2 separate regions of the Homo sapiens genome follow, and region 2 is linked to region 1. The links are contacts of gene promoters, found by promoter capture Hi-C in blood cells and fetal thymus (Javierre and others, 2016). All regions are on one chromosome and are shown on one strand. Each heading gives the region's core, a stretch centred on a gene start or on the middle of the fragment in contact. The rest is flanking DNA. Distances are from core to core; before and after follow the strand shown. Region 1 holds the start of WSB2 (WD repeat and SOCS box containing 2). Region 2 has its middle 1.8 kb from the start of SDS.

Region 1 (2,700 bases), core at 45-2,544:
AGCGAAGAAAGGCGGGGAGAAAGGAATGAGAGGCGGGAGAGTGACTTGAATGAAGCTGACACCAAGAACCGCGGGAAGAGCTTGGGCCCAAAGCAGGAAAGGGAAGCGCTCGAGTTGGGGGTAAGGGGAGGCATTTTGGGGACAATGAGCTGAGCTCAGTAAGAAATCCCCAAGCCACTGATACTACTGGGGACCGGACAACTAAGAAATGGGGTCTTTCAGGCATGAAAAGCCTCCATGATGACTCCTGCCCTGGCCCTGGAATGTTAAAAAGGGGGCGTCTGACCCAAGCGAGCCATTTCTTGAGGCTATGCGGGTAGACAGGGAGAGCAGGTTTCTCAGGGGGACGGGGACAGGCGAGGCTGTCGCCGTAGGTAGGTAAGGGGACAGTCTTCTTCCGAATCGCTCCTGCCCCGTTTTTTATCTCGTTCCCACCCCCACTCCGGTTTTCACCCTGCCCTCCTCTCCCCACCGCCCCGTGTTCTCCTCACTTCCCTCTCCCATTACCGGAGCCATTGAGTAGCCCCCCTTGTTTTACCCTAGCCTTGACCCTCGCCGCACCCCCCAATTCTTACGTCCTCCCCAGCACCCGGTTATTACACCTTCCTTCCACCCCCTCCCCATTTTCCCCTAAGCCCAGCTCTCCCCAGGTTTCTTCTCGGCCAGTATTCCCTCCAACCTATTTCTCCCGCCCCCATTTTTACCCGTTTCCCCCCTCATCGGCCTTCGCATGGCTCCATTTTCACCTGCCCCTCCCCTCGATTTCGCTTCAGCCCCTTTGGTTCCCCTTACCCCCACAGCCCTCGGTCTCCCTCTCTCCGTTCTCCCCGGATCGCCGCTTCCCCTGCTTGGTTTTTCTCTCAGCCCGGCTCTACCACTCTCCAACACCCCCTTTTCCCCTGAGCCCGGCTTCCCCTACTCCGGTTTCTATCGCTCCCCTTTTCCCGGTTTCCCTCAGCTCTGTTCACCTCCCTCCCTTCCCCGTTTTTATCCGGCGCTGGTTCCCCTCAGGACCCCGCACAACCCCTGGGTTTTATCCCGTTCGCGCCCCACCCCGTTTCCGCTCAGCTCCCCCCACCCCTGCCCCATTTTTATCTGGTTCGCGCGTCTTCCCCGCCCCCGTTTCCCCTGAGCAACCCCTCAGCTTTTATCCCGTCAGCGTACCGCCTCCCCGATTTTCCATCTTTTCCCTCAGCTGCCCCCCACCGTTTTTATCCCGTCCGCACCCCCCCTCCGTTTCCCCTGCGCCCCGCCCCCGCGCGTCTCCGCCCGCGCCCACCGCCATGTGACGGGAAGCAGCTGATGGCCTCTCCGGGCGGCGGCGGCGGCCTGGCCGGGGCGGGCGGCGCGGGGGCGGCATGAGGGCCCGCGGCCCGGGGGGCTGAGGCGCCCGCCGCCTGCCGCGGGGGCCGCTCGCGTCCTCCATGGAGGCCGGAGGTGAGTGGGGCCGGGCGCGCCCGTTCCCGCCCGGCGGGGCCCTGGCCCGTTCTCCCCGGGGAGGGGGGAGGCGACCCCGGGGCGGGCTGGGCGGGGTGGGGCGGGGGCTGGACGCGGCGGGGGCGTCCGGCCTGGGAGGTCCGCGCGGGGCCGGCGGGGGTGCGCGCCCGGCGACCAGCTTTGTTTCACTTTCGTTGTCAGTGGCCGCCACCCTGACTCCCGCCGGCGACAGGATCGGGAAGATCGGGCTTCTGCGGGAGGAGATCCCCCGACCGGGACAGAGGGGGCTCCCGGGTGGGACTCGGGGCGGGGGGCACCAAGCCCTAAAACGGAGATCCCCAAGGGGGTGGGTGCCCCTGGGTACCCAGGTGCCAGGGGACGCACTTGCATGTCTGGATGGGAGTCACCTCTGTCCCTCACAAGCTGTGTGATCGTGACAGTGGACAAGCCACTGAACCACCGCCACCCACGTCTCAGTTTTGATCTGCAAAATGGGATAATCCTAGTACCTTCCTCGGAGGGTGGCTGGGACCCGGTAAAAATGGGGTCTGGGGTCTGGGTTCCCTATTGAAACAATCTATTCCCAGCCTCTCCCACTGGAGATTAAGTCAGTGGAGGTGGGGCGGGACTGGAGACGCTGATCCCTGGTGACATGTATGATCAGGCAAATTTAGGATACACTGATGGGTGGGGACCTTGCCTCTATTCTTGTTAACTGCCATCCCCATCAGAAGACAGCGTGGAAGTCAGAGGATATTGGATATACCTCAAGCCAGCCCAGATGAACATAAAATCTCAGTGGGAAAGGTGTGTCTCTTATGCAAGGGGAAAAAAACCCCAAGACGCATGCACGCCTTGGCCCTCTCCCCTCCAACGACCTTCCCTCGGAACCCCACTTGGGATAGATTTAGAATTGATTCCGGGAGTCCCAGGTCTTGAAGGACCCGAGTTTAAATGTAATTTCCTTAGGAGAAATTTTCAGAGCAGGTTCAAGGCCTAGGGCTCAGAATTTGTTCCAGAACTTCATGGTAATCTTGCAGCCAAGTTCAAGCTTCATCCTGGTCTGGAGGGTTCTGATTGCTGATGGCTTGTTACTGTGGGTGGGAAGGTTGAAATCTGGGTATTCCCTGGGGTGGTGTTACTTTTTAATTTAGGAAATGACATTTCTTTGTTTGCTGAAGTCAGGCATTGAGTTAAAGGCAGCTCTCTCTCCTTCCCATCTAGATAAGGGCTTTCTTTTCAGTGAGTGTTACCCGTAGAATT
Region 2 (2,700 bases), core at 117-2,616, 4.7 Mb after region 1:
TTTACATTTAGTTTCTATCTTTTAACTGGAACTCAGAGCTCTGGACAGAGCCCACACTGAATCCCGGGTCTCCAAAGAGAATGATATGGTGGACCTAGGCTGTGTGATGCTTTTACAGTGTACTTTGTTGCAAAGACATTTCTCTAAGGGTCTAAACCATACTCTCTCTTATCTTTAAAAAAAATTTTTTTATATATAACTAGGCCCACACATCCAGACCCTCTCCTGTTTTAAACATTCAAGAGTAGCCCCTGTTGTAATAAAGATTTTAGTCAAAAAAGAAGTCAGGTAACACACAACAAAAGCAAGCAGTTGAAGATCTGAGAGGAACTTATCTGTTTATATTCTTAGGGCTCCATAAGGTTATGGAAAAACAGAGGTTTCTCCCCAAAAAGGAGTCTGGCACTTTCTCTGTTTTCCTTAAGGGAGTCCCAAGCTGTTAGAAATTATTTTAGGTTCCTTGAGCTGTAGAGGGTGGCAAGAGAAAGGAGACAGGCAGAAGTAAATTGGAAAAAACAGAAATCAGTCAACTGAGAAGAAAAAAGAAAACTTTTTCTCAAAAAACAAGATCCTGGCCAAGTGGGGCGGCTCTCACCTGTAATCCCAGCACTGTGGGAGCCTAAGGCCGGTGAATAACTTGAGGCCAGGAGTTCAAGACCCGCCTGGCCAACATGGTGAAATCCTGTCTCTACTAAAAATACAAAAACAATAGCCCAGTGTGGTGGTGTGCGCCTGTAATCCCAGCCACTTGGGAGGCTGAGGCAGGAGAACCACTTGAACCCAGGGAGTGGAGGTTGCAGTGAGCTGAGATCATGCCACTGCACTCTAGCCTGGACGACAGAGTAAGACTCCATCTCAAAAAAAAAACAGATCCTAAGAGAGAAAAAAATGCATTAAGGCCCTATGAATAAATAAATAAATAAATACACACACACACACACACACACACACATCTTAGATATTCGCCTTTAATTAAGCTTTTAACCATTGAGCTCTTTAAAAAATCCTTTTAAATCTCATCACCATATTTTAGCTGGGACAAACTGCTAATATTTCAAAAGTAACACAAACATCAAACCAGAAAGGACTTGATTTAGGAACCAAGCCCAGGCCACGGTGGTGAAAAAGGAACAGAATCTTAGCTACTGAACTAGCGTGAGGTGACAGCCATGTAGCCTCTTTCAGTTTGGCTTGGCTAGCAAAAGATGGCCTTGTTATGTAAATAATGCCCCTCAGGTAATCAAAATCCTTGTCTCTCTCTCTCTTTTTTCTTTTGCTGGCTGTTTTTTCTTTTTCCTTTTTTTTTTTTTCCAGCTGTGGGTATTTAGCCAATTCATGAGACCTTGTTCGCCATAATATGAAACTTTCCTTCAGATTTGACCAAGTCAAATGGAGTTGGTCCAGTCCAATGGGGAAAAGACAGAAGCAACAAAACAACAACAGAAACAAAAACAGTTAAGCAAGGGAAACAAACAATCAAGCAATTTATACGATTACTGCACGCTCTAAAAGTAGGGAGAAATTAAGACCAGCTGGTTGTTAACCCTAACTTCTAGTCATGGGGCCCAGGCTGAAGACCGCTCTCTACCATCCTAGAAGCGGGGAAATCTCAAACTTGCCTTCCCTGCCGGACACAAGCGAAACTCCAGAAAGGAGCTGCCTGCTTGCCATCATCATGGAAGCCAGAAAACTCACCTTCCTTGTTGGAAGTGAGTAAAACGCAGAAAAGGAGCTGTTCAGGGAAATCAAGCTTAGATATCAACCAATTGTGGGAGATCAGGAGTTCTCTGGAGGTGGGGAGCTCCCAGGCCTCAGCAAACTGTCCTATTTTGGAGGGCAATCAAGATCGCTCAAGGCCGGCATGGTGGCTCACGCCTGTAATCCCAGCACTCTAGGAGACTGAGGCGGGTGGATCACTTGAGGTCAGGACTTCAAGACCAGCCTGGCTAACATGGTGAAACCCCATCTCTACTAAAAATACAAAAAATTAGCTGAGTGTGGTGGCACATGCCTATACTCCCAGTTATTTGGGGGGTTGAAACAGGAGCATCGCTTGAACCCAGGAGATGGAGGTTGCAGTGAGCCAAGATCATGCCATTGCACTCCAGCCAGGGTGACAGAGCAAGACCCACCAAGCACCAGTAGGAGACTTGTCAAAGGTCAGGGCCACCTCCACCCAGGGTCCCTTTCATGAGTCTCCAATCTGTAAATCAAAAAGAATCAAAAAGATTGAGACAGGACTCAATCCATTTAGAAATTTATTTCGCCAGGGTTAAGAATGCACCTGGGAGACAGGTCTGTGCTTTTCTCCAGAGATGACTTTAGGTGTCAGTATTTAAAGGAGAAAAGCAAGCTGGAGGGGAAAGAAGGAGGCTATGGCCACATTACCAAATCCACAGTTTGTAAGAGAAGAGGGGCAGATAGGGAAGTAGCCAATTATGTATTTGTCTTGATCTCAATAAATCGGCACTTTACATAAGATAAGGTGAACATAGAGTAGCGACCTGTGGAGATATTTAACTTTTTTTTTTCTTTCTGTTGTGAAGGCTGGAGTGCAGTGGCGAGATCTAGTCTCACTGTAACCTCTGCCTCCCAGGTTCAAGCAATTCTTGTGCCTCAGCCTCCTGAGTAGCTAGGATTACAGGCACGTGCCACCACACCCGGCTGATTTTTGTATTTTTAGTAGAGACGGGATTTCAC

Evidence for each region. Contacts are between HindIII fragments. The CHiCAGO score rates a contact against its expected background, and 5 or more counts as called.
Region 2: a fragment that was not itself captured here is called in contact with the fragment with the promoter of WSB2 in region 1 in 1 of 17 cell types (M0 macrophages); the score reaches 5.7 in M0 macrophages.

The regions. Positions count from the first base shown.
Region 1 is chr12:118,059,773-118,062,472 of GRCh38, reverse strand. WSB2 (WD repeat and SOCS box containing 2) reads left to right here and starts at 1,294. Exons shown (of 9, transcript NM_018639.5): 1 at 1,294-1,437. The coding sequence starts at 1,425. LOC124903030 (a long non-coding RNA gene) reads right to left here and starts at 1,013. Exons shown (of 2, transcript XR_007063479.1): 1 at 793-1,013. RefSeq lists a silencer at 1,835-1,884. The HindIII fragment of the contact is 4,146 bases long and covers 1-2,490 here.
Region 2 is chr12:113,404,342-113,407,041 of GRCh38, reverse strand. No RefSeq gene overlaps it. Among named protein-coding and RNA genes, the nearest start is that of SDS, 1.8 kb to the right of the region's middle. The HindIII fragment of the contact is 773 bases long and covers 980-1,752 here.